Regions from separate parts of the Homo sapiens genome. Here regions 1 and 3 are each linked to region 2. Evidence: promoter capture Hi-C in 16 types of primary human blood cells and fetal thymus (Javierre and others, 2016). All regions are on one chromosome and are shown on one strand. Each heading gives the region's core, a stretch centred on a gene start or on the middle of the fragment in contact. The rest is flanking DNA. Distances are from core to core; before and after follow the strand shown.

Region 1 (2,772 bases), core at 125-2,624, 160 kb after region 2:
TCATAAGGAAGATTAAAATGTATTTAGTATTGATTAAGTGGAAGTGGATCATCATAAAGGTCTTTATCTTCATCTTGACATTGAGTAGGCTGAGGAGAAAGAGGAAAAGAAGAGGTTAGACTTGCTGTCTCAGCAGTGACAGAAGCAGAAGAGGTAGAAGGGGAGGAAGGGGAGGCAGGAGAGGCAAGCACACTCAGTGTCACTTTTACTGAAAAGAATCCAAGTATAAATGGACCCATGCAGTTCAAGCCCATTTTGTTCAAGGATCAGTTGTATTCACATGTTTTCACAGATTGAAGGAAATGTTTAATATATTTCTATCTTACAAAGAACTGGTATCCAGATCATAAAAGGAACTTGTACAACTCAGTAAGAAGATAAATGACACAATTTTTTAAATGGGCAAAAGATTTGAACAGATACTAGACAAAAGAAGATAGTATACAAAATGCCAGTTGGCACATGGTGCTCAACATCACTAGACATCAGGGAAACAAATGAAAACCACAATGAATACCATGACCTATAAACCCATTAGAATGACTAAAATTAAAAAGGCTGATCACACTAAGTGCTTCTGAGATTGTAAAGCAACTGGAAATCACATACACTGTTGATAGGAAAGTAAAACAATACAGTTTGGAAGTTTCTCAAAAAGTTTAACACGTATCTACCATATGACTGAGCCATTCAACTGCTGGGTATACCTGGGAGAAATGAAAATGTATGCTCCACAGAAAGATTTCCAAGTGAATGTTCATATCAGCTTTATTTAAAAGAGCCAGAAACAAGAAAGAACCCAATGTCCATCAATAGGTGGTATATCCACACAATGGAATACTACTCAGCAATAACATGGATACATGCAACAACATGGACACATCCAGAAATCACTATGCTGAGTGAAATAAGCTGCACAAAAAGTGTACATACTGTACTCCTATAAAATGCAAACTAATTTAGAGTGACAAAGAACAGAGGAGTGCTTGCCTGGGGCTAAGGGCAAAGGAAGGGAAAGACTGCAAAGGGGCAAGAGGAATCTTTTGGGGATGATGCCAATGTTCTACATCTTCAATGTAGTACTTGTTTCATGAGTACGGACAGACACCTATGAGACTCATTAAATGTACACAGATATAGTTCACTGTGTGTAAATTATCCTTTGAAGTTGATAAGGAAAAAAGTAATTTCCTTTGCCACTCCTGCTGCCACTGGAAACAAGTTAGCAAGCTACTACCTCCCATATCTCACGATCACTGGGAAAACAGGAAGCTGTATAGAAGTTGGTGAGAAAATGAGTGGTATTGCAAAAAACATTTGATTATTAATGAGGTGTCTGGTACTAAGTTACAAATCATCTTACTTAATTCTAACACTTTTGATGAGGTAGGCACTATTATCTCTATTACAGATGAGACAACAGGCTCAGAAAGTTTAAAGAACTCATTGAAAGTCACCCCGATGGTAAATGGTAGATTTGGATTCAACAATGTATGCTGGCATCAGACCAGATAAACTTACCTTCGAATGCTATTATTCCCTACAGTGCTTAGGGCATCCTCAGAAAGGAAAAGCCCTGATAGCCTAGGGACAAGAAGAGCTGCTAGAGATTTCCTTCATCAGGACTGAGAAATCCTCTCAAGTCAGGGAGTTTTTTTTCTTTTAAAAAATTTTTTTTAAGTCGGTGAGTTTTAGCAGCCTTTTTCAAAGCAGCTTGGGAGAGTGGGAGGTGGGGTACACCTCTGCTTCTGGAGCAGAGGAGAATCCTCTCACTTGGCTCCAGCATTTGCTGGTATTTTGTTAACTTTTGGCTCCTCCATGTTCACCCACCCACTGGTTTCCCAGAGTAAAAATGCCAAAATATCTTGGCTGAACAGGCGAATGGATCACAGATGACAGAGGTAAAAAAAAGAAAAAAAGAAAAAAAAAAGAAAGACAATCAAGAGGTTCTGTAATATGCTTCTTTTTAAAGGTAAAAGCAAATTGCACACGTCCTCATTCTTATTCTCTTTGAGTTGGCTGTCTTGTGAAACATTCTGTTGTCTATATTTTCATTCATCACATTGAAAAAAAAGTTAGGCAAATGGGTCATGCTGAAAGTTTAAGTAAATTTACCGTCTTCCTATTTCAGACCAGCTGTAGTCCATCTCCCCTGAAGCCTGGCCAACAGATCAAGGAGAACATGGCTTGAGCTGCAAAAACAGACCAGAGAGAGAAACCCTGGGAAACTAGGCTCTAGCGGGTAGCTCAGGAGGGGAACCCACACTGCAGAGGAAAAGTAAAGAGGCCTGGGTGCCGGGATTAACTCTAATCATCCGTGAGACTCTGGCAAGACATGCTCTCCCTCAGAACCTCCAAAGACTGGAGTGATCAGGTTTTTCAACTTTTAACAAAGGCCCAGCGTTTCTAACCAAATATAATCTCCCTAAACCCTCAGTTTCTCATGCACTTCCTCTTTGAGGATTGCTCTGCTGCCTGTTTATTCCTCAGAAACCAAGTTTCACTTTCTGAAATCTGTTATAAAGCCAGGCGACTTTTCATTGTTACACTATAAATTATGATACCAAATAAAAACTTCTAAAAAGTATATACAAGGATAATCTGAAATTCAGCCATAAGCCTGAGTGTGTGTCATTGAGAGTTAGGAACTAAATGCTCTAAAACAAACTGTGATGTTTTCTGGTTGTTCCTCATTTCCATTCCTGACTTAGCCTGAACTGCAATTTTACTAAAGCTCCTTTGCTTCCCCTTCACACACGTTAAGAATTCACC
Region 2 (2,925 bases), core at 57-2,556:
CCCAGTCCATATCTCTAAGAAATCCGAAGGCTGCTCTATTACCATCACAACCCATAGGGAGGAGAGAAAAGGTGCTTCCTAGACACAGGGACCCCAGAATGAGCTGCGCAAAAGGCAGGAGGAGAGAAAGGTGGGCTGGAAGAAGGAGACCACGGAATCTGGCACGGCAAGGTATTCTTTCATCTGGCGTAGACCTCCAACAACCACTACCATCCCCCAGCCCCTTCCAGAACTTTCCTTCACCTTCTCGGCTCACTCTCACGCTTCACCTTGTGCTTTTCCTCCGGCACCAGCACCCCATTTCAAACCGCTCTCTTCCTATGTCTCCTCCAAACAGTAATTTATAAACACCGTGCTTTCAAATCCATCTCATTTCATCCTCACAGTACTATAGGAGGGCTGCCTTACAGGCTGTCATTCGGAAGGGTTGGGGGGACTGGTCCTGCCAGACAATTTGCGAAGGTCGGGGCATCAAAACTTTTCTTTCCTGCCTCCCACGCCAAGCTAAACCTCTGCCTCCCCGAGTGCAGGGAGAAAAGCAAGGTCTTTGAAGTAAGGAGTCCTGAGTGGTTTTAGGCAAGTCCCTTCGCTTTTCTGAGCCTCACATTCCTCACCTGTCAACCGCTATAGTGACGCCTCTACTTTTCAGGGCGTGGGAGGTCAATGAGATCACTGGTGTGCCGCACTGAACTCGGGGATGGACTCTTTATTTCCAGTCAGTAAAGGGAGGTGTTCTATGCATCACAGGCTTTTGCCCACGCCGCCACAGCGCGGCCGGCCCAGGGCTCTCCAGAGCGGGGCAAGTTCCCTGTCATCTGTGTCTCCGCCCTTCCTTCCCCAATCTCACCCAGGCTGGCCTCATCGGCTTGTTCCGCACCCACTCCCCAGCCCTACAGCCCCCACTCCGACCTGACAAGTGCCCCACCCCCACCTAGAGATCCCGCCTCTCCTTGCCCCACCCACCAAGGACTCCTCCCACAGTCCCGACCCTCATTATCCGGGCTTTTCCGACTATCACCATCCGCCCTTGCTCTCCCAACAGCCCCGCCCCTCTAAGAGCTCTGCCCACTTCGGCTCACCTCGCTCCGAAACGCGCCCCCTCCCCCGCACCACAGGCGATGCCATCCCCATTTCACAGATGGGAATGGCGAGGCTGGGATAGATTAGTCTCATGGTAAGACAGGTGCTCAGTGGGCCCACGTACCCTCGCCGGTAGTCCCCGAGCCCCGCGACCCCGGCCGTGCCGCACCCACCTCCTGCCCTCGCTCTGCAGCCTCTCCCTCCGCGAGCGGCCAGCGCAGCTTTGCGAGGGGGGCGGAGGGTAGGAGCCCAGCCCAGGGGCGTGGCGGTCCGGGGTCTGTGCGCTGCCTTCCGGGACTGGTAGTTCTCTCTGGGCTCCTCGCAGCTCGGCGCGTCGAGAGCGAACTCCATCTCCCAGGAGGCATTGCAGCGAGTTGCTCTGCGCCCCGCCTCGTCCCCGCCGGTGTCCGGCCGGCTGGCCTTAAAGGGGACGCGGTCAGAGTGGCAGCTCGCGGGGTGGCCCCCGCTCCGGCTCCGCCCCATTTCACGCACCTCGCCCCTCCCCATGCTTCATCCCGCAGCCCCGGGGCCGCGCCGCAGAGTCGGGCTTCCTGGATACATAGAGGCTTGTGCCAGGCGGGGTGGGAAGACTGGATTTTGCAGTGGAAGCAGCATCTCTTCCGTCTGGGACCTGGCTGAGGGCGTCCCCACCCTGGGGGGAGCAGAGGACCAGCCCTGACCTAGCCGGGCCCAGCCTCGTCCTGCCCGGCCTGAGCGCCCCGCCCAGCAGCCGGCTCTGGCCCACCGGGGTCCGGGAGGTAAGGGGGTTGGGGGCGTGTGACTGTCTTTGGGGGGCGGTGTCTGCACCCTGGCCTTTCGAGAACCCTGGACTTGCGAGCCCAGGGCTGGGAGTCGGGAGATCTGGGTGCATCCTGGGCCTCCTGGGCCTCACTGTGTGACCTTGGGCGAGTAGCTATTCCTCTCTGGGCATTAATCCCCTCCCTTCATCAATTGTATGTCGAAGTGATCCTGCTCCCTCCCCTTTCAGGTAAGAGGGCATTCGCACCCAGTACCTAGTACATTCGCTTGCTGGCTTTTCGTGGGGCCCTCCAGCTCAAGCGTGGGCTGGGCGCGGGTGCACTGGAGGGAGGGAGGTGGCACAAACTGGGGGGCCCGAGGCCACCATTGCTTGGAATGGGCTTTTCCTATTCTCAGTGTGCTGGGCCCTGGGATACCCTCCCCAACCCCCTCTTACGGCCCTGGCCCTTGCAAACCGGAGACCCTGATGTGTCAGCTTGGTGCCCTTCCTTCCAGAAAGCTTGGGGTGGAGTGCGGCCCTCACAGGTTTGTGAGGGGTGGCCCCGCAGGGATAGGTGTGTGTGGTGGGTTCCTGAGGAGGAATAGCTGCTCCTGCTTTCTTCCCTTCTCTCTCCTCCTTATCCTTTGAGGAAGAGCAGCTGCTTTTTACCAGTGAAACCCTTTTTTCTTTTTCTTTCCAGGAGACAGTTTGGTGGCCCAGACATGGGCCTCCCGGAGTAGGGTGAAGCACTTCTTCCCAGGGTTGCCTTGGGTAGAAGTTCAGTTAAAAAATACCTAGAGAGATGCTGCCATTCAGACACCTGAGGGGCCAGAGATGGAGGGCACCACCTGGTGTCGGGAGGGGCAGCCTGGTACCCCCAAGGAAGCTCTGGCTCCCAGGGGAGTCAAAGGAGGGAGGCTGGCTTCGAGGGTCAGAGAGGGGAGGAAATGTGCTCCTCAGCTCTTAGGTGCTGAGCAGAGGCTGGGAGGGGCTGCTCTGACCTGGAGCAGGGAGAGGTTGAGTAACACCATGAAGCCTTCTTCTCAGGTCCTAGGAGATTCTGTGAGCTTTTGACCTGAAGGCTAACCAGGAACAGATTTTTGTTT
Region 3 (2,710 bases), core at 53-2,552, 140 kb after region 2:
CTTTTTTGGTTAACATTTGGGTGCTTCCCATATGTTATTTTCTTAATGGAAATATTTTTCTTCCCATAACGTATTTTCTTAATGGAACTGTGGAACACCCTATGAAGTAGAAAGGTATTAGTTCTAGAATTTGCCTGAGATCTCACAGTTATTAATAGTAGAACCAGGCTAGGTGCAATGGCTCATGGCTGTAACCCCAGCACTTTGGGAGGCTGAGGTGGGCAGATCATTTGAGGTCAGGAGTTCGAGACCAGACTGGCCAACATGGTAAAACCCTGTCTCTTCTAAAAAATACAAAAATTACCAGGGCATGGTGGTGGGCACCTGTAATCCCAGCTACTCGGGAGGCTGAGGCGGGACAATTGCATGAACCCGGGAGGTGGAGGTTGCAGTCAGCCGAAATCGCGCCACTGCACTCCAGCCTGGGTGACAGAGACAGACACCGTCTCAAAAAATAAATAAAAATAAAATAAATAAATAGCAGGACCAGCACTCCAACTCTTTTGATCCAAATTCTCCATTCTTTTTTTTTTTTTTTTGAGATGGAGTCTCGCTCTGTTGCCAGGCTGGAGTGCAGTGGCACAATCTCGGCTCACTGCAATCTCTGCCTCCCAGGTTCAAGCGATTCCCCTGCCTCAGCCTCCCCAGTAGCTGGGACTACAGTTATGCACCACCACACCCAGCTAATTTTTTGTATTTTTAGTAGAGACGGGGTTTTACCATGTTGGCCAGGAGGGTCTCGATCTTCTGACCTCCTGATCTGCCTGCCTTGGCCTCCCAAAGTGCTGGGATTACAGGCGTGAGCCACTGCGCCCAGCCCCGAATCCTCCATTCTTAAGGGATAACAAATCCAGAATTTCAGTTCTCCAAAAGATATAATGTGTTTAAACACATTGTGCAAACATGAGGAGTTGCTATCCTTACCACAGAAAACCTCTTTCTCTAAGCTTGAAGTCCTCAGGATAAGAGGAATAGTGCCCACGCTGCTCTGGGCCTAGAAAGGGATTACAGAGGTCCCAGGCTGGCTCAGATCAGACCAAACTCACAATAGACCAAGGGGATTGGAAAACAGAGACACAGATGGAAAACCAGTGGCTGCCACCACAGCCTGGTCACTAAGGCAGCTCTTTATCTCCTATGCCATTGTTTATAGCCCAGAGGACACCATCCGGACCTCGTAAATGAAAGTGTCCATTGGGAAGGGGAAAAAAAACACACATGCCCCCTCCACACACAAAAGGGCATTTGTGTTGGGCAACCCAAGAGGCAGACACACACCAAGGGCTTGCCCCTCCTCCCTTTGCCTCTAGGAAAAGACAAGAAAGGCAGCTTTCTGGTACTCTACAAAGTGGGGAGCCTGTGGCGGGGAACAGAACAAACCCCCTCCAAAACTGCTGACTTGATTCATCCCCAAACTGACACAAGGCGGGAGGAAGACTTCAGGAAATGGGCAGATTATGTCCAAGAAAAGATTTCCTGCAAGCAGTTAATGGGAAACTTACATGAAAAGCAGGACTAAAAATACACAGGCTATTGGAAACCAGTGGTGAGGCCCCTGGTTTTTAAAGAAGTGACTGAGGAAGCCACCAGGCTTGGGACTTTCCCTGCCCACCAACCTAGGGAGATCAACTTAACACTGGCTTTATTTGCCTGGGGGAGAAGCTTATAGGGTACCTGGTATGATTTAAATTTCCTTTCAATATTGATCAAGTCCTCACTGTGTCTGAGCTTTCTATTCATATAAGCTATGATAGCACAAAAAGAAGGTAAAAGCCCCAGTGTCCTACACACATATCCTGACTCAAATGATGAGAGAAACGGATCAGTAGTACAAATGACATCCTATGTTTAAGTGAATTTTGGTTATCAAAAAATAAACCTCACAACTTAAGTAAGAGTCTAATGGGATGCAGCAAGAGGTAGCAATGGCATGCAGGAAATTTATCTGCACTTGAAGGCATATGTGAGTAATGACAAATCATAGCTCTGGCTTGAACAGTAGGGAAACTAAAAAGTAACATTTAGGAGACCAAAAAGTAACTATTAAGAAGTGTTGTTTATTGACTTTGAGAAAGAACCTTTCTAGGTGCTTAGAGGAAGAAGCAGGCACATGGAGTTCCCTCATGCCCTAGAGTCTGAGCAGAAATTTGAAGATATAGTTTTTGTTTTTTTAAGAACCTTCCCCTTTGCCTTGTCTTATACCTGCAGAGCCTAATTTTGCCAAATATTTATTGAGCCCCAACACTGGTGTATCCCCTATAGCAGATCAAGAATCTCTTATAATTTAATGGGAAAGATGGTCCTTCAAATGACAGAAGGAGGAGGATAATGCTGGGCTTTGTTTCAGAGCCTGCCTGGGACATGTGGTACCATCAGTATACTCTTGATCCAGTGCTTTACAGTCTTCACCCGGAAATACTGGGCTCCAATTACAAAGGAAAATCTTATCACTAACCATCTTCCAATAATACACATACTGATAAGTCCTTCTTCTAGGATTATAATGAATAATTTGAGTCCAAAGATCTTTTGGTGACTTTTTTTATTTTTTATTTTTAGAGAAAAAGTCTCGCTCTGTCACTCAGGCTGGAGGGCAGTGGTGCGATCATGGCTCACTCCAGCCTCGAATCCTGAGCTGAAGCAATCTTCCTGCCTTAGCATCCCGAGAGCTAGGACTACAGGAATGCACCACCATGCCCAGCTAATTTTT

The links. The method cuts DNA at HindIII sites, captures the fragments that hold promoters and counts their contacts. A CHiCAGO score of 5 or more calls a contact.
Region 1: a fragment that was not itself captured here is called in contact with the fragment with the promoter of KCTD21 in region 2 in 15 of 17 cell types (activated CD4 T cells, fetal thymus, non-activated CD4 T cells and 12 more); the score reaches 10.5 in activated CD4 T cells.
Region 3: a contact is called between a fragment that was not itself captured here and the fragment with the promoter of KCTD21 in region 2, in 7 of 17 cell types (non-activated CD4 T cells, naive CD4 T cells, activated CD4 T cells and 4 more). The highest score is 7.6, in non-activated CD4 T cells.

Annotation. Positions count from the first base shown.
Region 1 is chr11:78,348,020-78,350,791 of GRCh38, forward strand. The region is part of intron 1 of GAB2 (GRB2 associated binding protein 2); the gene reads right to left. Among named protein-coding and RNA genes, the nearest start is that of GAB2, 68 kb to the right of the region's middle. The HindIII fragment of the contact is 3,231 bases long and covers 1-2,772 here.
Region 2 is chr11:78,187,320-78,190,244 of GRCh38, forward strand. KCTD21 (potassium channel tetramerization domain containing 21) reads right to left here and starts at 1,307. Exons shown (of 2, transcript NM_001029859.3): 1 at 1,254-1,307. It overlaps USP35 (ubiquitin specific peptidase 35), which reads left to right and starts at 1,600. Exons shown (of 11, transcript NM_020798.4): 1 at 1,600-1,838. RefSeq lists silencers at 1,024-1,363, 1,794-1,953. The HindIII fragment of the contact is 4,363 bases long and covers 1-2,336 here.
Region 3 is chr11:78,330,726-78,333,435 of GRCh38, forward strand. All of the region lies in intron 1 of GAB2 (GRB2 associated binding protein 2), which reads right to left. Among named protein-coding and RNA genes, the nearest start is that of GAB2, 86 kb to the right of the region's middle. RefSeq lists an enhancer at 1,798-1,847. The HindIII fragment of the contact is 715 bases long and covers 946-1,660 here.